6 separate regions of the Homo sapiens genome follow, and regions 2, 3, 4, 5 and 6 are each linked to region 1. Evidence: promoter capture Hi-C in 16 types of primary human blood cells and fetal thymus (Javierre and others, 2016). All regions are on one chromosome and are shown on one strand. The core of a region is centred on a gene start or on the middle of the fragment in contact, and the rest is flanking DNA. Distances in the headings are between cores, read along the strand shown.

The links. Contacts are between HindIII fragments. The CHiCAGO score rates a contact against its expected background, and 5 or more counts as called.
Region 2: the fragment with the promoter of PACSIN3 here is called in contact with the fragment with the promoter of CSTPP1 in region 1 in 1 of 17 cell types (M2 macrophages); the score reaches 5.3 in M2 macrophages.
Region 3: a contact is called between a fragment that was not itself captured here and the fragment with the promoter of CSTPP1 in region 1, in 8 of 17 cell types (M1 macrophages, megakaryocytes, M2 macrophages and 5 more). The highest score is 24.7, in M1 macrophages.
Region 4: a fragment that was not itself captured here is called in contact with the fragment with the promoter of CSTPP1 in region 1 in 6 of 17 cell types (M1 macrophages, megakaryocytes, M2 macrophages and 3 more); the score reaches 8.7 in M1 macrophages.
Region 5: a fragment that was not itself captured here is called in contact with the fragment with the promoter of CSTPP1 in region 1 in 6 of 17 cell types (megakaryocytes, M2 macrophages, M1 macrophages and 3 more); the score reaches 13.6 in megakaryocytes.
Region 6: a contact is called between a fragment that was not itself captured here and the fragment with the promoter of CSTPP1 in region 1, in 5 of 17 cell types (M1 macrophages, megakaryocytes, M2 macrophages and 2 more). The highest score is 9.7, in M1 macrophages.

What each region holds. Positions count from the first base shown.
Region 1 is chr11:46,934,035-46,938,817 of GRCh38, forward strand. It overlaps CSTPP1 (centriolar satellite-associated tubulin polyglutamylase complex regulator 1), which reads left to right and starts at 2,727. Exons shown (of 9, transcript NM_024113.5): 1 at 2,727-2,817. The coding sequence starts at 2,772. RefSeq lists an enhancer at 2,585-2,794. The HindIII fragment of the contact is 8,451 bases long and covers 1-4,783 here.
Region 2 is chr11:47,184,559-47,189,341 of GRCh38, forward strand. It overlaps PACSIN3 (protein kinase C and casein kinase substrate in neurons 3), which reads right to left and starts at 1,876. Exons shown (of 11, transcript NM_016223.5): 1 at 1,791-1,876. RefSeq lists silencers at 1,505-1,824, 1,875-1,974 and an enhancer at 1,646-2,532. The HindIII fragment of the contact is 15,006 bases long and covers 1-4,783 here.
Region 3 is chr11:47,134,289-47,139,071 of GRCh38, forward strand. CSTPP1 (centriolar satellite-associated tubulin polyglutamylase complex regulator 1) reads left to right here. Exons shown (of 9, transcript NM_024113.5): 4 at 3,357-3,441. It overlaps LOC124902671 (a long non-coding RNA gene), which reads right to left and starts at 2,588. Exons shown (of 2, transcript XR_007062666.1): 1 at 2,529-2,588. The HindIII fragment of the contact is 949 bases long and covers 2,220-3,168 here.
Region 4 is chr11:47,118,228-47,123,010 of GRCh38, forward strand. The region is part of intron 3 of CSTPP1 (centriolar satellite-associated tubulin polyglutamylase complex regulator 1); the gene reads left to right. Among named protein-coding and RNA genes, the nearest start is that of ARFGAP2, 56 kb to the right of the region's middle. The HindIII fragment of the contact is 2,018 bases long and covers 1,033-3,050 here.
Region 5 is chr11:47,084,653-47,089,435 of GRCh38, forward strand. The region is part of intron 3 of CSTPP1 (centriolar satellite-associated tubulin polyglutamylase complex regulator 1); the gene reads left to right. Among named protein-coding and RNA genes, the nearest start is that of ARFGAP2, 90 kb to the right of the region's middle. The HindIII fragment of the contact is 693 bases long and covers 1,807-2,499 here.
Region 6 is chr11:47,067,807-47,072,589 of GRCh38, forward strand. The region is part of intron 3 of CSTPP1 (centriolar satellite-associated tubulin polyglutamylase complex regulator 1); the gene reads left to right. Among named protein-coding and RNA genes, the nearest start is that of ARFGAP2, 110 kb to the right of the region's middle. The HindIII fragment of the contact is 1,559 bases long and covers 1,352-2,910 here.

The sequences.
Region 1 (4,783 bases), core at 1,477-3,976:
TATAGAAAAATATAAAGAAGAAAAATGTAAACAGTCAGTAATTCCACTACCAGTAAGGCCACCTGTTATTTCGGTGAAACTTCAAATTTTTGTGAAGCCTTACTCTAGCAACCTCCTACTTTTCTAAGTCCTCCTCCTCAATAGACTGTTCAGGACATTCAGAGTGGAAGACTGACTTTGAATACAGGGGTCCTTCGGATTTTTATGGAAGGGATGGAACTGTAGGAAAAACCTACAAATTGCTCCAGAGATGACATCTTGTTCTTATTTAGCCTTCTTTGAGTCATTAACAGTCGGGCGCCACTGGTGCTGAAACTTATCATTATTATAACCACAAATGGGTTAATGCCCAAACAAAGCTATATTCTTGGGGCTGGTTCCCAGCTCCACCACACAGACCCCAGCAGCCAGCACCCGCCAAGTCCCAGGATAATGCTCCACAAATAAGACGATGTCAAATGTTCAGCCTGGACTCAACATTATCTTCTTCTATCTGGGAGCTTCCAGTTGCTAGCAGGGCAGAGCAAAAGGAAAAATAAATAAATAAAAGCCAGGTCAACAAACCCTAAAAAAAGAGACTGTGTGGTTTAGTGGTCAGACCACTGGCCTGGATGTTGGGATAGCTGAGATCCAGTTGTAGCTCTACCACTATGTGGCTGCATGATGCTAGACAAGTCACTAGACAAGTCACTGTTGTGACTTGTGCCTCAGTTTCCCTAGTTAGAAAATGGAAAAGTGCCTTAGAAAGGTTTTTTTTTTTTTTTTTTTTTTTTTTTTGAGACGGAGTCTCGCTGTGTCGCCCAGGCTGGAGTGCAGTGGTGCGATCTTGGCTCACTGCAACTTCTGCCTCCCCGGTTCAAGTGATTCTTCTGCCTCAGCCTCCTGAGTAGCTGGGATTACAGGCGTGCGCCACCACGCCTGGCTAATTTTTGTATTTTTAGTAGAGATGGGGTTTCTCCATATTGGCCAGGCTGGTCTCGAACTCCTGAACTCGTGATCCGCCCACCTCAGCAGAAAGTTTTTATGAGGACAAATAAGATTATTTGCAAATAGCTACAAGTTGCTTGGGAATAAAGTAAAATTATCACTTAATAATTACTATGGTATTACCTTATTAATAAAATAGTAAAAAGCCACAGTTATGGAACATATGAACCTCCCATAACCTCAAGCTAGATGGGGGAAGCAGATAAGAAGGCAATTAAAAAAAAATCAGATTTGCTGGACTTCACACCAAATACCAAATTAGTAAATTTGCCTCAAGACACTAAGCCCTGCTCCTACTTTGGCTCTGTCCTTTTAACCTCACCACATCCAAACTTAGAGTGACTCACAGGAGCCTAGAATTGAGACACATATACAATTTTAAGGGAAAGCAAGAATTAGGAGGTTTGAGGCTCCTTACTGGAGGACGCTAAGAATAGGCCACTCGGAACACAAAGAGAAGAACCTCCTCTTTCCTTTTCCTCCCAGTGTAGGTGGTCTACTGGTTTCCCAGTCATTCCTTTGATAGCTTGATTTTGTTTTCTTTGTCTCTTTTTCACAAACCTCACCTTGTTGGAGGGGGAGGGCACTAAAAAAGTGAGGACAGAGTGGCTTTTTCTGCTATGTCTGAACTGTGTCTAGTGCTACAGATCTCTGACCTGTTGTCAGGAGTGGAGAGGGGCGAAAAGAAATATTTAGGAACTTGAAAACCAGTGAATATTCTCTTAAAGAAGAAGTGAGCAATTGGGCATATAGGGAAAAAAATCTAACTGGTGTCCTCGTTTCTGCAGCCCCTCTCCCTCAAGAAGAGCAATGTCTTGGTAGGAAAAAGGAAAGACACCTGGGAAAGGTACCAAATAGTAAGGGCTAGGAATAGAAAGAAGAACCAAAGATAAAAAGGAATTGAGCCTGGGCGCGGTGGCTCACGCCTGTAATCCCAGCACTTTGGGAGGCCTGAGGCAGGCGGATCACCTGAGGTCGGCGGATCACCTGAGGTCAAGAGTTTGCAGACCAGCCTCGCCAACATGGTGAAACCCCATCTCTACTAAAAACACAAAAAATTAGCCAGGCGGAGTGGCGGGCGCCTGTAATCCCAGCTACTTGGGAGGCTGAGGCAGGAGAATCGCTTGAACCCGGGAGGCGCTGGTTGCAATGAACCGAGATCACGCTACTGCACTCCAGCCTGGGCGACTGAGTGAGAATTGAGAAGAAATGGCAATTAGTTCAGAGGACTTAATGAGTACCTTTTGTGTGTCCAGCCGTCATAGGCAGAAAAGACACATCTCTGACCTCTAGAAGCATCCAGGGTATATGCATACGTAAGCACTTTGTAGCAATTTAAGATAGTAAATACCAAAGAGATAAAAATAGCTAATGGGATACTAAGTGTTTATGGGGGCCAAAGGGCGGGGGCTATTACTGAGTTAGGATAAACAGTGTATAAAAGCAGGGATAGTTATGAAATTCAGAAACTGCGTATATGGGCGGCTGACAGTAATTCTTCGACACTGGGAAACATAACGGATTCAAAAGAATTCTTCATCTCAGATTCCTCTAAAACCAAGTCTTCAAGAATGGGAGTCCAAAGAAACCTGGACCATCGTGAAGCGACTGCCCCCGGAACTTGAGTGGCCAGCTCCACTTTGCGACACGGAGACTGTTTGTGTGACACCTCCTCCAGCTCCCGTCCCCCTTCCGCCGCGTGGGTGCCATGGCAACGGAGAGAGACGGCAACCTGGGTTCCGGAAGCCGGAGAGCTGGAGCTTTGAAGCCACCCCGGTCAAAGGATGCTGAGTCCGGAGCGCCTAGCCCTACCGGACTACGAGTATCTGGGTAGGAACCCCCTTTAACTTTGGGGAGGGAAAGACGTGCAGACGAATTAGGCCAGGGTCTGGGAGGAGGCGGGGGCGGGGTCTGAGTGGGATCGGGTCCGGGTGGTATGGGGAGGGGCGGAGAGGCGGGGGTTCCAGGGCCTGAGCCTGTAAGGCCGAGCAGGAAGGAAAAAAGCACCTGGGAAGTAAAGAATGTTTGAAGTGTAGGGGCTGGAACTCAGGCAATGTGGATTGTGTTCAAATGGGTCAGGTTGGCGTTGAGGATTTGGGGCCCTGTTGGGGTATTATTGATATGCTGGTAGTGGAGTAAGAATAACCTTGGAACCTCAAGTGCCAAATCAGTCAGCGAACATTTCGAGCTTTTCTTTTTCATTAGGCACTGTGCTAAGCATTTTTCATGCATCATTCTTCATTTGAATTTCTCAACAGCCCTAGGAGGAATTACCGTGTTTTCTTCCAGTTTTGCAGGTGGAGAAACTGGGGCTGAAGAGGTAACTTGCGTTAAGTTAGGCCACACAGCTAGAAAATGGTAGCGCTAGGATCAGAACCGGATTTGCCCACTCCAACAGAACTTGAGATATTGACTTGGCTCTTGAGCTAAGACTGTATATGTAGTACTTTGTTGAGCATCTTTAGTGTATAAGGCATTTAATGAATGAAAAAAGGCACACACACGCATAGATATGTACACACACACACATATGCACACAATACACATTTTATTTTATTTTATTTTTGAGACGGAGTCTAGCTCTGTCGCCCGGGCTGGAGTGCAGTGGCGCGATCTTGGCTCACTGCAAGCTCCGCCTCCCGGGTAGCTGGGACTACAGGCGCCCGCCACCTCGCCCGGCTACTTTTTTGTATACTTAATAGAGACGGGGTTTCACCGTGTTAACCAGGATGGTCTCGATCTCCTGACCTCGTGATCTGCCCGCCTCAGCCTCCAAAAGTGCTTGGATTACAGGCGTGAGCCACCGCGCCCGGCCACAATACACATTTTAAATAATTCATAGACTTTTATTTTTTTAAAGACGTTTTGTTTTGTTTTGTTTTGTTTTTTGAGACAGAGTTTCTCTCCTGTTGCCCAGGCTGGAGTACACTGCAACCTCTGCCTCCCGGATTCAAGCGATTCTCCTGCCTCAGCCTCCCGAGTAGTTGAGATTACAGGCATGCGCCACCACGCCAGGTTAATTTTATATTTTTAGTAGAGACGGGGTTTCACCATGTTGGTCAGGCTGGTCTCAAACTCCTGACCTCAGGTGATCCGCCCACCTCGGCCTCCCAAAGTGTTGGGATTACAGGCGTGAGCCACTGCACATGGCGAGAAGTTTTAAGTTTACAGAAAATTGAGCAGATAGTACGGCGAGTTCCCATATACCTTGGGTCTCCCTCACTCACAGTTTCCGCTATTATTTACATCTTGCATTAGTGTGGTACATTTGTTACAATGGATAAACATATATATTTATAATATATAATAATATATTATATATTATTATTATTATATAGATATATTATTATAGATACATATTATTAACTAAAGTCCATAGTTTACATTAGGGTTCTTTGTGTTGTTCAGTTCTGTGGGTTTTGATAAATGCATGTCATGTATTCACCATTCCATTATCATACAGAATAGTTTCACTGTCCTGAAAAATCCCCTGTGCTCCACCTATTGATCCTTCTCCCTCCCCCTGCAGCCCTTGCCAACCACTGATCTTATGGTCTCTAAAGTTTTGCCTTTTCCAGAATATCATGTAGTTGGAGTCATACAGTGTGTAAATTTTTCAGATGGGCTTCTTTAACTTAGCAGTAAGCATTTAAGTTTCCTCCATGTCTTTCTGTGGCATGATAACTCATTTCTTTTTATTTCTGAATAATATTCCATTGTATGGATGTACCATGCACATCTTTTTTTTTTTTCTTCTTCTTTTTTTTTTTTTTTGAGACAATGTCTGGCACTGTCA
Region 2 (4,783 bases), core at 626-3,125, 250 kb after region 1:
ACGCGCCCGCTCCAGCAGCTGTGGGAATGCTTGGTCCAAGTGGGCTTCCCCCTCTGCTAACAGGAGACAGAGCTAGGGGCTCCGCGGAGACCCAGGCAATGGAGGTGCCCACCAGGGGCCTCACAAGCTCGTCACTTGGTTCCCTCTGCAGTGTGTCCTGTCTGCCCAGAAAGGACCTGACAGGGCGATGGAGAGAAAGAGAGCTGCTGCCATGAATCACAGGGCTCTGGAGCCGCCCCAGTCCAGCCTCAGGAGCCTGGGGCCCCTTGCCTGTTCCAGCCTCCGAGTTCCCTGCTCCCCAGAGAGCTGCCCCCCACCCCTTCCCTCTCTCTGGCCCCAGAACAGAGCAAGCTGTGTGTACCGGGCTGGCACAGCTCCCTCCGGCCTCCCAGAGCAAACACAGGCCCAAGCCCCGGGTGCAGCCAGGCCCCACAGCCCCAGCCTGACCTCTCAGCAAGCAAGCAAGGAGGGCTTGCACCTTGGCCCCCATTGAGCAGGTTGGCACCCTGTGCCTCCTGAGCTCAGCAGAGACCCAAATCAGTCCCCACCGCAGGCAAGAGCTCAGAAAGCAGGTAATGCAATCTTCCCAGCCCCGGGAGCCAGCACGTTCGGCTCCGAGAGGTCTTCCTGGGCTTGGCAGGGTCTCCTTGCAGCTGCACGGGCCAAGGTAGGAAGTCCCTGGTTCAGGGAAGACCCAGTCTCCCTACCTGAGGCCTGAAGGTACCCGGCCCCAGACCAGCCCCAACCTCTTCCAGAAGCTGGGGGCTTGCCCCTGGGAGGGAGCTCAGCCATTCTGCCTGGCCCATCCCTGGAACCTGAGTCACAGGCTGCGCCCAAGGGCTTCTTTCCCGGGCAGCCCCTCCCGGTGCGCCCGCAGCTCTAGGATTTGAGGACAGAGCGGGGGGGAGGGGAGGGGGCGTCAGTAGGCTGGTCCGAAGAGGGACAGCGAGGTTAGAGGGGCTGGAACCAGAAGCCAGAGCCAGCCAGGAGATCAGGAGGCTGGGGGAGGGGGTGGCGCAGCCAAAGCGGGAGGAGGCAGGGCCAGGGAGGGGCATAACAAAGGGGCACTTTTGGAAACCCGACCTGCCGGCCGGGGTGCCTGCTTCCAGATGACGCACTCCGAACCCCAGCCTCCACTCCAGAGCTCGGCGCCCAGAGGCTACGCGCCTCTGGCCTCAACCCTTATGGACCGCGCCCCTCGACAGGACCCCTTGCCGCCCGGAGCTGCATAACTCGGAGCCCGTGGAGCCACGCGGAGCGGCAGGGCCAGGCCTAGCCACCGAAGCTCTAGACTTCTTGGCCAAACTTGTTGAACTTGGTCTTGGCGGGGGTGGGGCCACTGATCACCGCCAAGGGGAGGGGACGCCCCCTGCCTGGGCCGGCCTTGCCGTGGGCTCCAGATGGTGGCCCCGGGCAGCGGACCCAGGAATCGGGGCTCGCTGCATAGGGCGAGGGATCGCCAGGGAGCGAGGACCCTCTGGGGCCTCGGGGCGGGCGCGAGGCGAGCGGACGGGGGCCCTCGAGGGGCCCCTGAAGACGGCTCAGCCCTCCAGCGCCGGCGCCGCCTCCCCCGGGCGGCCTGCGGAATTGCGAAGCCCGCGGCACCGCAGATGGGACGGCCCCTCGGCGCGGCTACGGCCCTTCCCGTCGGCACGCAGAGCGGGGTGGCCGGGGGCTCCCTGGGCGGGAGTCGGCTCCATTGCAAACTTCAGAAGCCGGAGCAGGAGAGGGCGGGCTCGAGCCACCGCACCCGCCGCCGCCTACCCGCGCGTCCCCTCCAGGGCACTCACCGCGTCCTCCCTGGGCCCCTCGGCGGGTGGGGGTCCGGCCACGCTCCGGCCCGAGTCCTGCCGCTCCTGGGCCCGCGCCGCGGCCTCCCGGAGCGCGCCGGGCCCTCCCCCGGGAAGCCCGGCCCCCGGCCCCCGGCCCCGCCCCTCTCCTGGCCGCCGCTGCCTCAACCCCACGCGGCGGGGCAGCGGGGCTGCAGGCATCGCGGCGACCAGCGGCTCTTGTGGCGCGGGTCGAGGTTTCTCTGCTTCGCCCGTGTGCGGAGTGCCTGGGCGGGCTCCCCAGGGTTGCGCCCCGGTGCCGCAGGGAGCCAGATTTCGGCTTTGCCTCTCCCGGACCGTTGCAGAGCCTGGGAGACCCGAGGGAGCAAGAAGGGACCGGGCCGGCACGGGCAGCCTTGGAGAGGGGCCGGGGGAATTACACTGCCTTACATTTTTAGCTGCACAGCTTGTTTAGAAATTGGCTCAGGCGAGGCTCACAACCACCCCTTGTAAGCATTAGGATTCCCACTGTACAGATGCAAAAACTGAGGCTCGGGGGCTTTTCAGAGGCTTGCCCAAGATTTCCCTCTAGTCAGGCAGGGCTGGGACTCCAAAACCGTGCCCTACCGTTCCACAGCTGCCCTGCTAATCTGGGGCGCCTTCTAAGGCCTGAGACGAACACGCGGTGGGGGTGGGACAAAAAGGCCTAAGCTCCTCCCGCTCCGAGTTCTTATTTCCAGATTTTGTACCACGATTCATTCTTACCCTTCGCCCCTCCACCCCCTTTATCAGTCTGGTACATTTTTCCATATCGCCACGATGCCACCCCACGCTAAATAAATCCCTTCTCCCTCCTCTCTCCCTACTTCCCTCTCCCCGCTTTCCCCCGGGGGTGAGATTTTGCAGAGCGGCTCCGTCTGTTATTTATATCCACTGGAGCGGTCCAAGAATGTTCCGAAGCTGACCTAATCGCCACCTGCTCGGCCTCTCCGCCCCTCCCACTCTCTCCTGGGCCCGGTGACCCAGCGGCGGTGCCCTGAGCCTTGAAGACCAGGGGGAGCGCGGACCAACGGGGTCGAACGCCCGGGCGCAGAAGGTCCCGGACGCAGAAGGTCCCGGGCGCGCAGAATCGCAGCGGGTCGGAGAGCCCCGGCGCTCTCAGAGGAGTGCGCCCCCAGGGACGCGGCTCTGAGCCCTGGGAAGCTGAGGCGCCTGGCTGCGCCCTCTGAAGCTCGTACTTTTCCTCCCACCCTCAGCTCCCTGAAGAGTGTGAGTGCGTGCGCGCGGAGTTTTAAACGGCAGCTTTAAAAATAGCAAAATTATGTTGTTTCTAAATCCAGGAGGAATCACTGACGCGTTCTTTACGCAGATGAATCCGCTCACAAAACGGGAAAGGGACCTGGAGAAAATGAATGGGGGTAATTTTGCCTGCCGAGGGCTCACTTGCTGGGCAGTGCTAATGGAAGGGTAAAACTGCCTCCCCAAGACACCTGTGGGGCACCCAAGGCGCGCCACCTTTGGCCTGAGGATTCTGGCCGTGTTTGGCAAATCATAGCTGAGTAGTGAATCTGAAACCTGGGATGTGGTTTCTGAGACCAATTTCAACACCCACTCTCTCTTAGGGCTTGGACAAGTCCCTTATCTCTATTTCTACCTCTATAAAACATGACAGGTGACCAGCTGACCTTCCGCTGAGCCATGAGCCCCAGCTAATTAATGATTGTAAAAAACAACTGCAGATCAGAGGAGCTGGGAAAATGGCAAATCACAGCCACAGGGTTTTGTATTCTTTAAAATCAGTTAACATCCCTCCTAGCGCCTGAAGGCCTTTAGGCACCTAGACCGAAGTGTGAAAACACAAGAATGAAATTAATTACAGGAGCCACCTATTAAAACCTCATTAAAAATAAAGTTGGCAGCCAGGCTGTGGGATCTGGGAAAGCCAGGCCATAGAGAGACTCAGAAAACAGGGCTGTTCATCAGACCACAAAGAGAAGGGGATGTGGACTGGAAAACATCTGGCTTCCCTTGGGCTCAAGTCTGGGAGCAGAAAGCAGAAATGTTGCAGCTGATCTTAATTGCCCCTGAGGTACTGTAGGGGAAAAAAAACAACAAAATAAAACCCAGAGCATAGGGGGCTGCTTCTAAGCTGAAAGTAGACAGACATGCCTTTGGAAAGCCAGCTCCAAGCTAATGCTACCCCCAGGGCTCCCATTCTGCGCTCTATGGCCAGAGCCCTTAACATCCACACTGCTCCATCAGTGCTGTCCTCAACCCAGAGTTCAAGATGAGATGTCAGTGGACAGAGGGCTGCATAAAGACAGAAATCTGGTCGGGCGCGGTGGCCCACGCCTGTAATCCCAGCATTTTGGGAGGCCGAGGCGGGTGGATCATCTGAGGTCAGGAGTTTGAGACCAGCCTGGCCAACATGGTGAAACCCCATCTCTACTAAAAATACAAAAATTAGCTGGGCATGGTGGCGGGTGCCTGTAATCCCAGCTACTTAGGAGGCTGAGGCAGGAGAATCGCTTGAACCTGGGAGGTGGAGGTTGCAGTGAGCTGAGATCGTGCCATTGCACTCCAGCCTGGGCGACAAGAACAAAACTCCATCTCAAAAAGAAAAAGAAAAAAAATGACAGAAATCTAAGGCTGGGCACAGTGGCTCACGCCTGTAATGCCAGCACTTTGTGAGGCTGAGGCAGGTGGATCACCTGAGGTCAGGAGTTCAAGACCAGCCTGGCCAATAATGAAACCCCATCTCTACTAAAAACACAAAAAAACTAGCAGGCGTGGTCGTGGACGCCTGTAGTCCCAGCTACTTGGGAGGCTGAGACAGGAGAATTGCTTGAACCCGGGAGGCTTAGGTAGCTGAGATTGCGCCACTGCTCTCCAGCCTGGTCGAAGGAAACTTTCTCTCAAAAAGAAAAAAAGACAAATCTAGCAAGGCATTTGGCTCAGGGTACCAATGGGCAGATTGGTCCATAGCCAGATTTCACGCCACTCACAGACTCACC
Region 3 (4,783 bases), core at 1,444-3,943, 200 kb after region 1:
CTAGGTTCAAGAGATTCTCCTGCCCCCCAAGTAGCTGGATTACAGGCACCTGCCACCATGCTTGGATAATTTTTGTATTTTTAGTAAAGATGGGTTTTTGCCACGTTGGCCAGGCTGGTCTCGAACTCCTGACCTCAGGTGAACTCTTGCCTTGGCCTCGCAAAGTGCTGGGATTACAGGCGTGAGCCACTGCGCCTGGCCTAAGTGAGTTAATTCAAGAGCTGAGCACAGATCTCCATGGCTACTCACTCTCTTTACAGTTATTGCTGGAGCACAAAGGGCTGTGAGAAGGGCCTTTGAGATCTTGGACAGTTCTAAGAGCCAAAGGGCCCAAAATAGACAGGAGCATTAGGGTGAACTGGTGCCCAAATGCAGGCTGCAGAAGCTAGGGGGACTGCTACCTTGTTCATCATAATGGGGAGCCTGGAACAGAGCAGGCACATGGGAATAGGAAGTGAGTGGCCACTGCAGGAGAGTGTTCAAAACGGATTTGGCTCAGGCAACCCAACAGAGAACTTTCAAGGCAGAAAACTTTTAGGTGTTTAAGTGTCCAAACTCAGCAACAGCCAGGCTCATGCCTGTAATCCCAACACTTTGGGAAGCTGAGGCGGGAAGTTCAAGACTAGCCTGGGTGACGGCACGAGACCCCGTCTCTACAAAAATTTTTTAAATGCGCAGGGTGTGGTGGCATATGCTTGTAGTCCCAGCTACTTGGGAGGCTGAGATGGGAGGATCACTTGAGCTCAGGAGTTCGAGACTGCAGTGAGCTATGCCACTGCACTCCAGCCTGGGTAACAGAGTGAGGCCCCCATCTCAAAACTAATTAATTAATTAATTAATTAAAATTTAAAATAAAAAAAACTCAGCAACAAATACCTTCCTCCTCTCTTCTTCTCACCTCCAGAATTTGAAAACAGAACCAAAACAAACTCCCATTGTTTGATGTTACTAAGTTCTAGACATTCTGCTAAGCACTTTATAGACATCATCTCTCTTACACTTGACTTTAACCCTGAGAAGTGTCAGTGTCACTTGCATTTTACAGATGAGAAACTGAGACTTAGAGAGATTAAGCAATTTGCCCAAGATTACATACCTGGTGAATCGCAGAGCCAAAATTTGAATCCTAGCCTATGGAGCAGAAAGGGAACAAGCTCCCATATGCCTATCAGTGTTCTGATTTTGAAATAAGTCTTACCACTTATAGTTCTCTCAATACCCACTGTACAACAGCTGAGGAGTGTCTCGAAGTAGCAGAAATCATCTGCCCTTGACATTATCTGGTCACTACTTCAGTAGAATTAGAACTCCTCTCTCCACATCCCAACACAGAGTCTGCATGGAAGAATAATAATAACAACTAATAGAACTACTCTCTCCACAATTAAAAGTTGTTTATTTGCTTGCATTTTCATTAATCTCTTTATCTGACTACTGTCCTCACTTAACATTTAGAAGAGTCAAGTTCCAGAAGTGGTGAGCAGGATGTATTCTGTTTTTCATATTTTTAAGAGCTTTTGTTGTGTTAGAGAAGCACGCAGTGATTTTTGTAAATCATTCTTCTGTCCTTGGAAGCAAGTACTTGAAGTACATGAGTTAGAATAATATCAAAAACCTGAAGAGGGCCTAGGGTCTAGAAACCAGGAAGCTAATGTTGACTCCTAGCATTGTCTTTCTTAATTAAGTAACTCTCTCTCTCTCTCTCTCTCATTTTTTCATTTTCCTTCATTCTGTTATCTTCCCAAGGATATTTTGTAGGTAATTTGGGGGATAAATGTAAGTTCCTATGAAACACTCTGACTCTCCCTAAGAATGCTATCAGATATATCCACCAAAGTTTAGCCTAGAAAAGCACGATGATTCAAAGATAGAACTTTCCTTTATTTACTCCCTGCCCTGCCAGAAATCACTCTTCTCTTTTCTCTACATGGGGAGTTCTGGAGTGAGAATAAAGTGGGAACACATTAGACTCAGTGGATTTTCTCCCTTCCCTTCGCCTTTTTCCTCACCCCAAGCCTGAGACCACGAGTGGCAATGACTCCCTCCCTTGAAGAACAAGACCTCCTGCCAGGCTGTGCCCGAGGTCAGGCAAGTGGGAAGAGGAGAGTGCCACAAAACCATCTTGATCCTTTGACCTATATTGACGCTGAGTCTGTTCCTTTGGTGTTTCTGACTTTGGCAGTGTGGTTAGTCAAACTCTCTGTCCCCACCTTGAATTAAGCTTTGATGAAAAAGTACTAGGAACCCAGGCCTTTCCCTGGAGATTTGGGGTTTTTGTCTTGGAAAAGCATCAACCAAACTAACGGGGGCAGGAGATCTGGATTCCTGTGGCTTGGGCTAACTTAGGTCCAAAGAAACCAAGTGCCTGTGATCATCATCTTCATTCCCCAAATGTAGCCATGCCCTCTGGATTCCCTCCTCTCACTCATCCTCCTCCCAATTAGGCAGGCTTCCGGGTGGATTGCTCTCACTTTAGCATTACCAGGCCCTTCCATATTCGAAATGCTTTGATATATGATAATACTTACACATTCTTACTCCTTGGCTGATCTAAAATCTTTTGCCTTCAGTACATGCAGCAACAAAATAACTTAAGCATCAGTGTATTTCTTCTCCCTCAGGATCCTATAAATTTCTCTGAGATTCACCTCTCTGGGTTCTCTGCTGGACCACAGAGCCTCATCCTGGCTCACCTCTCCCAAAGCACAAAGCATTGCTTCTGTATATCAGGAATCATTTGGTTGCCTTGACTGTATATCTTGGACCTTTGTCTTGGCTTCCTATAATAGGATGACCAGATTTGTGTTCAGCCATTCAAAAGAAGCCAGCCTGCTGCAGTACTGGATGACAGAGTAATGAGGTCTGTGGGTTTCTATGCTGTACTCTTCTCCCTACACAGCAAGACTGTTTGCGTTAGTACTGCTTCCAGATATTCTGTGGATGGTCTTTGGGCATGTGGTGGGAAACGTTACCATGCCAGAGAATTTCAGCAAATTTAACCGGCTTTGAAATGACTTGTTCTTCCAGATTTTTATATACAAGGAAAACCAAACTAAAGAAGACTGATGAAGGTGCCTCTCTTGTTTGCTCTCTTCACCCGACCAATTTTCATACCAGTGAAGCTCCTTTGGTCAAAATGGTGTAACTGGATGCCTCCCACCCTGGAAAAGCTTTGTAGAAATACTGATCTTAAAATCTCACACCTGGAGGTTAGAGACTAGCATACCCTTCACACTGACTTGCTTTTAAAAGAACAGCTCTACCAAGACCAGGTCTGAAACTCATGAAATGAACAAAAAGAGGGCAGTGACTTGAAATGCAGAGACCTAATGTGTTCCTCTCCATTTCCACTTCAGATTTGCTGACCATGAAAGAATATCACTGTTTGCTGCAATTACTGTGTCCTGATTTCCCGCTGGAGCTCACTCAGAAAGCAGCCAGGTACGTCTCCTGGACTCTTGAAACCAACTCAGCTCTCTGTGGGCCACTGCTTCCTAGAGAAACCTGGAGTGTATACAAATGAAAAAAAGGAGCATTTAGGGAAGAAACTGGCAGTGGGAGAGGGGTCTATTTGGGATGTGCCCCAAAACATAATACATTCTGCATTTCCAAAGGGAAGCGAAATGATCCTTTGTGGTTTCTGTGGGGAGCCTCAGGGTCTGAAGATAGAGTTGGAGGGTGGTGAGATGAAGAGGCAGAAAAAGCCCAGACCCCTCCAATACCCCCACACACACACACCCTAGAGGATATTCTGAGAAAAGAGGGGCTGCATTTGTGTGTTTTCACGCTACTGTAAAGATACTACCCAAGACTGGGTAATTTATGAAGAAAAGAGGATTAATTGACTCACAGTTCCGCGTGGCCTCAGGAAACTTACAATCGTGGTGGAAGGCAAAGGGGAAGCAAGGACCTTTTTCACATGGTGGTAGGAGAGAGAAGTACAGACAGGGGAAATGTCAGACGCTTATAAAACCATCAAATGTCTTCAGAACTCACTCACTATCACAAGAACAGCATGGGGGAAACTGCCCATGTGATCCAATCACCTTCCACCAGGTCTCCCTCTCAACACCTGGGGATTACAATTCGGGTTGAGATTTAGGTGGGAACACAAAGCCTAACCATATCAGGGGGCAAGGGTTGGCAGTGACTTGTGATGAAGAGAGTTGAGGTTGGGGACTGGAAGGGCATAAAGGTGATAAAGCCCCAGTTGAAGGAAAGGCACATTATATTATTTATGCCAGAAGAAGGTTTTCAAGATCAGTCCAGAACCAGGACTTGGCAGAAATAGTTAGAAGCCCCTAATTTCTGTGTTGGGTTTCACCATCATTCACAATTTTTAACCACATGAGGTAATTGGACTATGCCTCAGTTAACTTTTACTTACTTAACTCAAAACCTGAGCTAGGCCAGACACGGTGGCTCACGCCTGTAATCCCAGCAGTTTGGGAGGCCAAGGCAGGCAGATCCCCTGAAGCCAGGTATTCAAGACCAGCCTGGCCTACATGGCGAAACTCCATCTCTACTAAAAATACAAAAAATTAACCAGGCACGGTTGCGCTTGCCTGTAGTCCCAGCTATTCGGGAGGTGGAGGCAAGAGAATTCGCTTGAACCTGGGAGGCGGAGGTTGCAGTGAGCAGAGATCGTGCCATTGCACTCCAGCCTGGGCGACAGAGCAAGACTCCGTCTCAAAAAAAAAAAAAAAAAAAAAAAAAAAAAAAAACCTGAGCTAGGGTTGCAAATGGACGTACAGCAAAAATCATGTTTATCGAAGAATGCCTA
Region 4 (4,783 bases), core at 792-3,291, 180 kb after region 1:
CACTTGATCGAATCAGCTATTGAAGCTTGTGCATGCGTCACGAAGTTCTTGTGCCATGGTTTTCAGCTCCATCAGGTCATTTAAGGTCTTCTCTACACTGTTTATTCTAGTTAGCCATTTGACTAATCTTTTTTCAAGGTTTTTAGCTTCCTTGCGATGGGTTCGAAAATTCTTCTTTAGCTCGGAGAAGTTTGTTATTACCAACCTTCTGACGCCTACTTCTGTCAACTCTTCAAAGTCATTCTCTGTCCAGCTTTGCTCTGTTGCTGGTGAGGAGCTGCGATCCTTTGGAGGAGAAGAGGTGCTCTGATTTTTAGAATTTTCAGCTTTTCTGCTCTGGTTTCTCCCCATCTTTGTGGTTTTATCTACCTTTGGTCTTTGATGTTCATGACCTACAGATGGGGTTTTGGTGTAGATGACCTTTTGGTTGATGTTGATGCTATTCCTTTCTGTTTGTTAGTTTTCCTTCTAACAGTCAGGTCCCTCAGCTGCAGGTCTGTTGGAGTTTGCTGGAGTTCCACTACAGACCCTGTTTGCCTGGGTATCACCAGCGGAGGCTGCAGAACAGCAAATATTGCTGCCTGATCCTTCCTCTGGAAGCTTCGTCCCAGAGGGCAGCCACCTATATATGAGGTGTCTGTCGGCCCCTACTGGGAGGTGTCTCCCAATTAGGCTTCATGGGAGTCAGGGATCCACTTGAGGAGGCAGTCTGTCCTTTCTCAGAGCTCAAACGCTGTGCTGGGAGAACCACTGCTCTCCTCAGAGCTGTCAGACAGGGACGTTTAAGTCTGCAGAAGTTGTCTGCTGCCTTTTGTTCAGCTATGCCCTGCCCACAGAGGTGGAGTTAGAGGCAGTAGGCCTTGTAGAGCTGCGGTGGGCTCCGCCCAGTTTGAGCTTCCCAGCCGCTCTGTTTACCTACTCAAGCCTCACCAAAGGCAGATGCCCCTCCCCCAGCCAGGCTGCCGCCTCGCAGATCAATCTCAGACTGCTGCGCTAGCAGTGAGCAAGGTTCTGTGGGCGTGGGACCTGCCAAGCTTGGCACAGGAGAGAATCACCTTGTCTGCCAGTTGCTAAGACCTTGGGAAAAGCACAGTATTTGGGCGGAGAGTGTCCCGTTTTTCCAGGTAGTCTGTCACGGCTCCCCTTGGCTAGGAAAGGGAACTCCCCGACCCCTTGTGCTTCCTGGGTGAGGCGACGCCCCACCCTGCTTCAGCTCGCCCTCCATGGGCTGCACCCACTGTCCAATGAGTCCCAGTGAGATGAACCAGGTACCTCAGTTGGAAATGCAGAAATCACCCATCTTCGGCATAGGTCATGCTGGGAGCTACAGAACGGAGCTGTTCCTATTCAGCCATCTTGGAACACTGCCCACTTCTTTTTTTTTTTTTTTTTTTTTTTTTTGAGATGGAGTTTCACTCTTGTTGCCCAGGCTGGAGTGCAATGGTGCGAGCTCGGCTCACCACAACCTCCACCTCCCGGGTTCAAGCAATTCTCCTGCCTCAGCCTCCCGAGTAGCTGGGATTACAGGCATGCACCACCACGCCCAGCTAATTTTGTATTTTTAGTAGAGACAGGGTTTCTCCACGTTGGTCAGGCTGGTCTCGAACTCCTGACCTCAGATGATCTGCCCACCTTGGCTTCCCAAAGTGCTGGGATTACAGGCGTGAGCCACCATGCCCGGCCTTATCCCCATCTTAATGATGATGGAATTGAAGCTCAAAAAATTTAAGTAACTAACTTGCCCCAGATCATTTGTCTAGTAACCAGTGGAGCTGAGCTATGAACCCAGAACCCAGGATTGACTAACTCCAAAAAATGTGCTTTCAACCATGAGGACAATCCTAAGAGTCACCTGAGCTATTTAATTAAATGTGGATTCTCACTCTCTTGACCCCAGGGATTCTGATTTTGCTTCTGTGGGTTTAGGGTACAGGTGATTCATGATCATATGTTGAGATGCATTGAGATATACTACATTGCTTTTAGGGTTTCACATCTGTATAGGGAGGCATAGGGATAAAATTCATTGAACGTTTTTTTAACTGTGTACTGTGTGCCAGTCCCCTTGATATGTATAAGCAAGTGAGATGGAGTCCCTACCCTCAAGACTTGGTCTAATGGGACCTTGGAACCCTGCCTTGACTCTGTCAGACTACCTCACTTGAGCAAGCCACTTACTCTTTAAGCCTTAGTTTCTCTATCTGTAAAATGGAGATAGTCAATTACTTACTTCAGAGCAAAAGGCCTGATCTATGATCCTGTGATTCCCAAGGCTCTTTTAAGTTGTGAAGTCACAGGGTGGACTAACTTCCAATGCTGAGAACAATGATGGGGTGGTGATGGGTCAGATAGACAAATAAATCAATAATTCAACCACCAATAAATAGTGGAATATGTAAAAGCATGCGCTTTGGAATCTGGCAGATCCATGATTCAAAGCTCGAATGTGCTTGCCTCTTGCTAGTTACGTAACTGGGCAAATTACTTCACTGCCCTGTGTCTGCAAGTAAAATGAGGACAGTACTTACCCTATAGGACTGCTGCGAGACATTCAATGAGAGTAATGATGCACAGCACTCAGTACAGCAGCTTAAAAACAGGTAACACCATGAAGCACTACAGAAGCAGTGATCAATAAATGGTTTAGAGACAGTAAACATCCAAAGACGCAGAAGAGTTTTACAGTTTTACAGCCTACTATTTTATAGTTTAAATTTGGTTACATTTTTTGTTGTTTTTAATATAACTTACATGGAAATCTTTTTAAAATGTATATGATACGTATACAGTGGCCTTCCCTGCCATCTTATGTAATTTAACTCCTCTAGGCATCTAAGCATCATCTTTGTCATCATAAATTATTTTACTCTGCTGGAAAAGATCATTGCCTTCAGGACCCACTGAAATGTACCCTAAATGTATCCAGATTATATTTAAAATATATTTTTCTGCCTCTCTGTTAGGTCATGTAGTTAATGCCTAATTATAGTTCTTTTTCCTCTCCTTGTTTACCCTGTCTAATCTGTATTGGGCTTAGAAACTAGTGGCCAAGCTTGTTAAAACTGCGAGTATAATCAGAGTATGTCTTGGAACCCTGTAAGTTAGCCACACGAGCTTTTGTATGTGGACTTCATGAAATCTTCTTGCCTACTTGGAGACTTATTGACATTTAGATATTTGGCATTGCCTATTAGTTAAGTTTTAAATTGACTAGATATTACTGTGTAAGGTACAGATACCTGAAAAAAAATTCCATTATTCTCAGCTTTGGAAGTTGATCCAATCTATGACTTCACAACTTAAAAGAGCCTTGGGAATCATGGGCTCATAGGTCTGGCCTTTTACTCTCAAGTAAATAGCAATTGATTATTATCTCTTTTTTACAGACAAAGAAATTGATCCCTAAGTGTAAGTAGCTTGTTCAAGTGAGGTAGTCTGGCAAAGTCAAGGCAGAGTTTCAAGTCTCCCAAGCCTGCCCTTCCGCTCTGCCACACTGTTCCCAGGAGGAAACAATCATCTTAGGCTGTAGAAAGGAAGGAAAACTATCAATAAATATGGTTAAAGATTAGAAAAATGGCCCAGCACGATGGCTAATGCCTATAATCCCAACACTTTGGGAGGATTGCATGAGCCCAGGAGTTTGAAACCAGCCTGGGCAACATAGTAAACACAGTGACATCCCTACAAAAAAAAAATTGCTGAGCATAGTGATATGTGCTTGTACTCTCAGCTACTCTGGAGACTGAAGCAGAAGGATCACTTCAGCCCAGGAATTCGAGGGTGCAATAAGCTATGATCACACCACTGTACTCTAGCCTGACAACAGAGCAAGACCCTGTCTCAAAAAAAAAAAAAAAAAAAAAAATATATATATATATATATATATATATATTAGAAAAATGAGATCTATGGAGGATATTGTAACTATTCAGTTCTATGCCCTTATTTTGATAGATGTTTTTCCTGTCACTCCTGCCCTCATTTGAAGGGGTTTATAACCTTAGTATGCCATCAGTGAGCCTGAACATCTCTATAAGGGAGGACCAAGGGGCATTATAATAAGATCCAAAAACATAGAATTATAAAAGATGATGATCTTTTCATCATGGATGAAACAAGGTGTAGGGAAGGAACTAAATGGCATTCAGGTGACTTAGAGGGGGAAGAAAGAGCCACTGAGAACGAGGGACATGGAAACAGGTTTCTGAAGGAAGATACATACTTGACCATCTCTGTGGATGGTTTCCTGCCTGCCGGCCTGCCATCCTTCCTTCCACAGCTTTGTTAAGATACAATTTATATACCATAAATCAAAATGGCTTTTTAAAAAATAAATCTTCTTAAATAATTCTTTTTTATTTTTTATTTTTTTTGAGGCAGAGTCTTGCTCTGTCACCCAGGCTGGAGTGCAGTGGCATGATCTCAGCTCACTGCAACCTCCGCCTCCCAGGTTCAAGCAGTTCTGCCTCAGCCTCCCTAATAGCTGGGATTACAGGTGTGCACCACTGTGCCTGGCTAATTTTTGTATTTTTAGTAGAAACGTGGTTTGCCATGTCGGCCAGGCTGGTCTCGAACTCCTGACCTCAAGTGATCCACCGGCCTCGGCCTCCCAAAGTGCTGGGATTACAGGCATGAGCCACTGCAGCCAACCAAAAAATAAATCTTATTCTTCTGATTGCAAGAAAGCACATATCATCCACGGTCCCCAAACACTGAGTTAACTACTATTTTTAACTCTGTTGATGTATCCCATTCTTTTCCCTATGCAAATTTTTATTCTTTT
Region 5 (4,783 bases), core at 903-3,402, 150 kb after region 1:
CTCCTACTTGTTGTGGTTCCTTTGTTAAAAATAAATAAATAAATTGACCATGTATTAATATGTGCATATCTATCTCTGGATTCTCTATTCTGTTCCATTGATCTAAGGTAGTGTATGCCCTTCAACTTTTTCTTTTTCAAGATTGTTTTATTCATTCAAGGCCCTTTGCATTTCCATATAAAATTTAGAATAAACTGGTTCATTTCTACAAAAAAAGCCTGATGAGAATTGGATTGAAATTATTAAGAATCGCCGGGTGCGATGGATTACGCCTGTAATCCCAGCACTTTGGGAGGCCAAGGTGGGCAGATCACCTGAGGTCAGGAGTTTGAGACCAGCCTGACCAACATGCCCCTGACCAACATGGAGAAACCCCATCTCTACTAAAAATACAAAAAAAAATTAGCTGGGCGTGGTGGTGGACACCTGTAATCCCAGCTAGTCGGGAGGCTGAGGCAGAAGAATTGCTTGAACCCGAGAGGCAGAGGTTGCAGTGAGCCAAGATCACGCCACTGCACTCCAGCCTGGCAACAGAGCGAGACTCCATCTCAAACAAACAAACAAACAGTAAGACCCGAAATATTATTTTTGAACCCCAAGCTCACTTTTGTATAGATATACCTACTCTAGAAACAATGACAAAACTAGGAATTGTGACACAATACTAAAGACAATATTAAAAGGCTTTTTTAAAAAGTTACATTGGGAGCAAAAAGAACAAGGAGGCCTAGGTGGGTGGTATCATATTAATGAATGAAAGAAAGAAAATAGAGCATTCACCTCTATTTTGGTTTAGTCTTCTCTGTCAAAGAGGATACTCTTTGGACTGGAAAAGATAAAATAAACACTGGTTCCAGGGAATGCAGTCAAACGTAGTTGAGATTGAAATAGGTCATGCAACTGCTTTAAATGATTTCAAGTTCCTTAATCTTATATTTCAAGATACTGAGGACTAGGCTGGGCGCAGTGGCTCATGCATGAAATCTCAGCACTTTGGGAGGCTGAGGTGGGTGGATCACCTGAGGTCAGGAGTTCGAGACCAGCCTGGCTAACATGACGAAACCCCGTCTCTACTAAAAATACAAAAATTAGCTGGGTGTGGTGGCAGGCACCTGTAATCCCAGGTACTAGGGAGGCTAAGGCTGGAAAATCACTTGAACCCAGGAAGCAGAGCCAAGGTCGCACCATTGCACTCTAGTCTGGGTGACGAGTGAAACTCTGTCTCAAAAAAAAAAAAGATACTGAGGACTAGTGGATGAGCTGGCTGAAGCATTGCTGGCAGTCTCTGAGAAAGTGTGCATGGGGAGGGGGAATTAGGGGATGGGGGTCGGGGATGGATAGAAATTTCAGAAGATTAGAGTCAAGGAACTAATATTCAGGAGGTCACTTCAGCAGACTTGACATCCATCTTAGGTAATATTCTTAAACTACTTATGAACAAGAATAAGTTAAGAGGCCTGGCACAGTGGCTCACGCCTGAAATCCCAGCACTTTGGGAGGTGGAGTCGGGCGGATCACTTGAGGTCAGGAGTTTGAGACCAGCCTGGCCAACATGATGAAACCCCATCTCTACTAAAAATCCAAAAAAAAAAAAAAAAAAAAAAATAGCTGGCTGTGGTAGTACATACCTGTAATCCCAGCTACTTGAGAGGCTGAGGCAGGAGAATCCCTTGAACCCGGGAGGCAGCGGTTACAGAGAGCCAAGATTGCGCCACTGCACTCCAGCCTGTGTGATGGAGTGAGACTCTGTGGAAAAAAAATTTTTTAAAAAGAATAAATTAAGAAAAGGAAGTTGGGATCACCATAAGCTTACCAGAATTTATTGAAGATGGAGACAGAAAAGGGGAGGAAGTAGGGGGTAAAGGGGGAAAGGAAGAAGGGAAGAGAAGATAATAAAGGGGAAGGGAAGGGACAGGAGGCGAAGGAAAAGGAATAGGAAAAGATTCCAGGCTTAGTGGGTAAAGAAGACTTGATTTCAACCCTGGCTCTTTTACTTCTTAGTAAAATGATGTTAGGCAAGTTATTAATTGCTATAAGCTAGATTTCCTTATTGGTAAAATTGAAATAAGAGAAACTACTTCATAGAGTAGTCCTGATGATTAAATTAAATAATGTGTATAAAGTGCTTATTTATCAAAAGCAGTGATAACTGTGAAGGGGGTGAATGATGGTAATGACAATAATACTGACGGAGAAGGAACGGGAGTAGACAATGTAAACTTACTCCCTTTTTGAAGAGATTATTACATTGGTAAGTTGACAGAAATCTGTACAGTATAGCTATATTTAGTATAGCTATATTTAGTATATTTGTTTAGCTAAATTGGATTTCTACAAGACTTTGACAACATCTCCATGACATCCTTGCGAACAAGGAGAAGGAATATAGGCTGGATGATATAGGCTGGTTGAATAGTCATACTTAAAGTGTGCTGATTAATGGGTTCCTGTCATGCTGAAATTCTCCAGGAGTGTAAATCTGGACTATGTACTTAGCCAAGCTTTTTTAAAAAATCATTATTTGCATAAGAGCATTGATAGCAGGCTAATTAAATTTGGGAACAATAGCTAATAAGCTGACTGAAAAAAACAGAACCTAAAAAGAAATGGTATAATACAGAGCAAAGAATATGGCCTTAATGTCATGGATCTATCACTACTAGCTGTGTGGCTTTGAGTAAATTGCTTAACCACCTGAGCCTTTTGTTCCTCATTTGCATGGAGATAATACTACATATTCCATGTGGTTGTGAGAACATAAAAGATAATATATGTGTATTATCACACCTGTAATCCCAGCACTTTGGGAGGCCCAGGGTGGGCAGATCACAAGGTCAGGAGATCGAGGCCATCCTGACCAATATGGTGAAACCCCATCTCTACTAAAAATACAAAAATTAGCTGGGCATGGTGGTGCGGGCCTGTAATCCCAGCTACTCAGGAGGCTGAGGCAGGAGAATCACTTGAACCAGGGAGTCGGAGGTTGCAGTGAGCCGAGATCGCACCACTGCACTCCAGCCTGGCAACATGGCGAGACTCAAATATATATGTGTATGTCAAATGTATGTGTGTGTGTGTGTGTGTGAATTAGTTATCTATTTCTGTGTTATAAATCTCCCCCAAAAAACCTGGGGGCCTAAAACAATACACATTTATTATTTCACACAGGTTCTAAAGGCTGGGAATCCAAGAGCAGCTTACTGGGGTGGTTCTGGCTCAGAGTCTCTTCTAAGGTTGAAATCAAGATTTTGATTGGGACTGCAGTCATCTAAAGGCTTGAATGGATCTGGAGGGCCTGCTTCTAAGCTCAGTCATGTGGGAGGCCTCAGATCTTTAGCACATGATCCTCGTGATATGAGGAACTGGCTTCCCCAGAGCAAGTGGTCTTAGAAGAAGAGAGCAAGCAGGAAGCCACAGTGCCTTTATCACTTGGCCTCTGACATCACATTCTGTCGCTTTTGTTTTATTTTCTCCATTAGAAGCGTGTTGCTAAGTTTAGCTCATATTCAAGGGGAAAAGAATTAGGATCCACCTCTTGAAGTGGGGGAGTATCATAGAATTTTGTGGGCATATCTTAAAACTGCAACAATCTAAAAAGTACTCAGTACAGTGCCTAGCACATAAGTGCTCCATAAATGGCAGTTGTTATTCTACTATTAATAGTCTACACTTAATATACATATACAATTAATATACATGGTCCCTACTATGAAACCGGTGTGGGTAGGACAAGATAAACTCATGATTTCTTAGATTCCTGGAAAACACAGAAAAAGAAGTACCACATATGACTACATTAATTACATCTGTTTTGTACACCAAAATGAATGGATTATTTTTGCACTGCATGTAATGCACTAAGAACAGGACTAGTAAAAATAAATTTTAGTAATATTTATTTATTTATTTATTTTGAGACAGCGTCTCTCTCTTGCCCAGGCTGGAGTGCAATGGCACGATCTCAGCTCACTGCAACCTCCACCTCCTGGGTTCAAGCGATTCTCCTGCCTCAGCCTCCCAAGTAGCTGGGACTACACGCATGCACCACAACACTGGCTAATTTTTGTATTTTTAATAGAGATGGGGTTTCACCATATTGTCCAGGCTGGTCTCGAACTCCTGACCTCAAGTGATCCACCTGCCTCGGCCTCCCAAAGTGCTGAGATTACAGATGTGAGCCACTGTGCCCGGCCAAATTTTAGTAATATTTAATAGGCATACATAAAATGTATAGTCTGTAAATATGAGTGATATGAAAAATTCGAATGACAACCTAAAAGTGATATTATATGGTTTTGTTAAAGAGTTTTATATGTACATTTAAATATAAGTATTGATCATCTGAGAACTCATCAAAGCTTAACTGAATAATGTATCAACTTGTCTTTCTGAGTGTCCTTTTCTCATTTCCATTTAAAAATGTGCCACAGCTAAGACTGACAGGCCCCAGTCTGCAGCAAAGATGGGGAAGACTTGGTAGTTCACACGCCTCCCCTGAGGGCAAGGAGTAATTCTGGGGGGATGTAAACTAACAAACATAAAAGTATTATATCGGCAAAGGGGTCGATTAAGTAAAAGAGTTGATGTTGACAGTAAAAATTTAGAAGCAATAATTAATGTGGCTGAATCACTAGATAATTTCCTCTTTATGTATACATTTATATGTGTATATATATATTTATATATGGGTCCATAATGCCCATCATTAGCCTCAAAGATTGTCTAATGTTCATTGGAAACAAAAACATAAGAACTCTCCCACCCGGGTGGACAGAGTAATTTA
Region 6 (4,783 bases), core at 881-3,380, 130 kb after region 1:
TTTTAACTCACAGTTTCAGCACAGAAAGATTCATTTTATTTTGCATGTTGACTCCAAAACCTGTTTTGATTTATCATTAACATTTTATCTGAAGTTGTGAGTATGGCCGTGTTGTGACCCTGCGTTATCAAATTGAGCCATCTAATTTATTTCCACATTGATAAACTTATATTCAATGGATTTTAGTTTAAGGTAGAAATAATGGTAATTACTTTTTTTTTTTAACTGTAGTCCTCATACCTGCCTTATGTCAATCAGGAAACTTTAGTATAAAAGAATAAATTTTGATACAACTGCTTATATCCCTGCAAATAACTCAGAAAGATCTGCAGCTTAAAGACTTTGTCCTAATAAAACTGACAGCCTGTATCAATCTGTATGTTATCCAATGTAATATTTTTTAAAATGTAAATGTTAATTTTGAAAACTGCATGTGTAATTTTGGCCAGGCACAGTGGCTTATGCCTGTAATCCCAGTACTTTGAGAGGCTGAGGTGGGCAGATCATTTGAGGCCAGGAGTTCAAGACCAACCTGGCCAACATGGTGAAACCCTGTCTCTATTAAAAACACAAAAATTAGTGAAGCACGGTGGCGCGCGCCTGTAATTGCAGCTACTCAGGAGGCTGAGGTGGGAGAATTGTTTGAACCTAGGAGGCAGAGGTTGCAGTGAGCCAAGATCATGCCACTGCACTCCAATATGGGTGACAGAGCAAGACTCCATCTCAAAAAAAAGAAAAGAAAACTTCTTGTATAATTTTAACTGCTAGTGCTTATCTACACAATATTTTTGGCTGCCTTCTCTTTTATGTGATCCTCTACTCCTTGAATTTTTTTCTGCCATTGCCTTTCCAGTCACCGTACAAATATGACTACCTTATACTACTTTGTTAGTATCTTAACACTTAAAGACTTCCATTTTATAATTATCAAGCATTTTATAAAATAATAAATTTACTTTGCATTTGCTTCTATACCAGATCATATAAGTAAAAGGAGAGCTTGACAACATCTGTCTTCTCATCCAGTATAAAGATTTTATGTAATCTCAGCTTTCATGCCAATATAGTCCTGGATTAAAAAGAAAATAAAAAGACCAGAGCAGATAATAATTTCCTAATCAGTGGCACATTTACAGTTGCAAATATATATATATATTTGTGGAGTAGGAGAAATTCCACAAATGAGTTAACCTATGAGCACAGGTTGATAGTGTGTGTATATTAAAATTTACTGTGTAACATATTTAGTGTACATTTTGTTTTTCTTATAGACTTTAAATAAAAGTATGTTTTTAATAAGAATTGAAATTAAACTTTTATAGAAACTTCTAAGTGCCTCTGCAAATTTCTAAGCTTCTGTGGAACATGGTTTGAAAACTACTGATCTACTTCAACCCTTCCCCATTGTGTAAATATAAAAATCAAAGCCAAGGTCTCCTAGTCACTTGGTAGGACCTGTAAAACCAAGACTAAATTCAGGTCTTCTGGTTGTCAGTCAAATGTTCTAGCCATTATCATGCTCTGCTGCTAAATGAACATATACATTTTGTGTCATTTAGTCTCTGAGATGAATGTATGATTTTGTAGCCCAAAACGTAATTGTAGTAGTTAAGGCATAAGAATGCATTGCCCATGTGATTTTATTTCTTCTTTCATTGTTTTACAGATGAAGGTAAAGTAGCTACAAGTTCTTTAATTTTAAGTTCCATTTTACCTATCTTCAAGAGAAAAAATAGTTACTCCACCTGGTTTAAAATTTAAAAATAATAATTCTTATTAGAGAGGGACGTATAATACTTGTTTATTGGATATTTCATGCTTTGAAGGACATAATAAGCAGATTTTGGAAGTTCTTTGAAAATACAAGAGTTTTATTGTTGTTGTTGTTGCTGTTTATTTTATTATTATTATTTTTTTTTTGAGACAGAGTCTCACTCTGTAGCCCAGGTTGGAGTGCAGTGGCACGATCTCACTCACTGCTACCTCCTCCTCCTGGGTCCTGGTTCCAGCAATTCTCCTGCCTCAGCCTCCCAAATAGCTGGGATTACCGGCATGTGCCACCATGCCCAGCTAATTTTTGTGTTTTTAGTAGAGACGGGGGTTTCACCATGTTGGCCAGGCTGGTCTTGAACTCCTGACCTCATGATCCACCCGCCTTGGCCTCCCAAAGTGCTGGGATTACAGGCATGAGCCACCGCACCCGGCCGTTGTTGCTTTTTAATTTTAAAGTTAGGCTGAAGTGAGACTGTAACACACAACGTTATTAAACGCATTCTCTAAAGTAGATCTACCAAGCCAGGCACAGTGCACATGCCGGTAATCTCACTTGAGCCCAGGAGCCCAGGAGTTGGAGAACATAAGTGCACTATGAATGTGCCTGTAAATACCCACTGATCTGCAGCCTGGGCAACAGAGTGAGACACCATCTCAAACAGGGTGGGTGGATGGATGGAGAGAGGGGGAGAGAGAGAGAGAGAGAGAGCTGGAAGTATGTAAAAGCAAATATAAATAATGTTGAAAATTTAATATTTTCCAGTTTTATTTTGCTTGGCATAACCTGCTCTTGATTCCCACTGATACCGCCTGACCCTAATTTAGAAACCTAATTAGACACCTTGGGGAGGTTGTCAAAAAGACAGATTCCTTGATCCCACCTCAAACGTACTCGACCACAGCCAGCAGGCAAGGGGCCTGGGAATTAATTTTAACAAGCATTTCAGGTGATTCTTAGGATCACTCAAGTTTGGGAAACATTAAGCGGTTTCAACCCTGCTTGCATATTAGGATCAGCTAGGGTGCTTTTAAAAAATACTGTTGCCTAGGTCCCTCCCCAGACCACTTTAATCAGAATCTTTTTGGTTGGGACCCAGGCATTTTAAATGCTCTGCAGGTGGTTCTCATACACACTGAAGCTTGAGAACTCCTGCAAGACAGTTGGAAATGTAATTCTCTGAAGCACAGCCCTGGTCTTGTCACTGCTGCTGAGAACCTCAATGGTTCTGTATTGCCTACTAATGAAATATGAATTTATGACTATCATAAGGCTACTCATGACCCAACACCAGCTTTCCAACCACTACTCTCCTACTTATAGACTATACTCTGGCCACACAGAAACACTTTCCCCAAACACTCCTTGTGCTTTCCCCCTTTCACACCTCTGTTTTTGCTTTCCCACCATGTAGAACTTTCCCCCATGTCTGTCTGTCACAGTCCTGCCCATCCTCAAATAGACCCAGCTCAAGTAGATTCCCATTTCCTCCTGTCCTTGCCCTCCCCTGCCTCCATTCAAAAGCGACCTCTTAGGGCATTTGTCCTATCATACCTTATATTTAGTTATTGGCAGATACATAGTCTCTTTCATAAAATGCCATGTGGAATTAAGAATAAGTGGATTTTTATCTTTCCTTTTTCCCCATCTAGATTGTAAATTTGTAATATCAACTATCTGTTTACTTCTGTGTGAGGCACTAAAGAGAAAGACTTTAGAGTCAAATGGCCCTAGGTTCAGGTGCCTTTTTTATTGGATATGGCTGTGTGACCATGGTCAGGTTAATTTTTCCAAGCCTTAGTTTTCTCATCTATAAAATGGAGAATATACTACTTCAGTGTTGTGAAAACTAGATTTGATAACCGACTGGAGCCTTCAGTAATCCCGGTATGTAATAACTGCTCTGTCAAAGTCTGTTGCTTTTATCATTGTGATAATGATCATTGTTAGCTCCCTTGAGGGCAAAGACTGCATATTTTATCTTTGGATCCCCATTCTGAACCTTGCTTATTGTAGGTGCTTGATAAATACTGGGTGAATAAAATAATGAATGCCTGCTGGGTCGTGCTTACTTATATAGTCCACTACCAATCAGTTCAGCCTGTCTTGGAAGGAGCACTTCAAATTTCAATTTAACCATCAGATAAAGATAGAAAATAGGATTTCCACTACAAACTTTAAAAACTGTATTAAAAAGGCCAAAACCCCAGTTAAACTGTAAGACAGCTGCTCTCTTTCTGCTGCCAGGAAATAGAGAAAACCCTCCAAGGACTATTTGCTGTTTGTTTGTGCATCATATAATAAACATGCTGTGACTTGGGGAGAGCACACACTTCCCCTGCAGGCAAGCTTGGGTTTGGGAAGTTGCATGTAGCAGCAGTGAGGAAGAAATCCCCCACTCTGTGGGAGAGGTTCCTTCACGGACTCCACTAAGCCCATTTGCAGTTTTGCTGAGTTATTTACTAAGATGAAGGGACTGGGTGTGGCTGGTCTGAGATTCCTCCTGGGAAGTCACTTCAAGAATCTCCTTAATTTCCTCACCCTTCATCTTTGTTCTCTGGCTTTGGTGCAAGGGTGCAGTCAGTCGCACCCAGTTGGCTGCTGTTCCCAGCACACTGAATTATTTGAAGCTGGCTGTGGCAGCCAAGGATTCCCTGTTCTGTTCTTTTCCCCTTGCCCTGATTTGAAAAACGGTCTGGAAATTCTCATCTGGCATGACCAGAAGGAACTTAGTAGGTTGCAAGCTGTTTTTCTAGATGCACAGGACCAAACAGAACCTTTAAAGCTGTAAATTACCATTTCTCAAAAACTCAATTTGATGGATTTTACATGGACAAATTATATAACGTAGGCTTTACCATCACCACTATCGTTTAAACAAGAGGCCATCCAATTGAGATGAAACCGATATAGGAAAGTAATTATCATCAGCTTTGTCACTTGAAGAAGGAATGTGAGGATATATTAGCTAATTGAAACCTCAGGAAAGATGTATAACAAAACATATAAGGA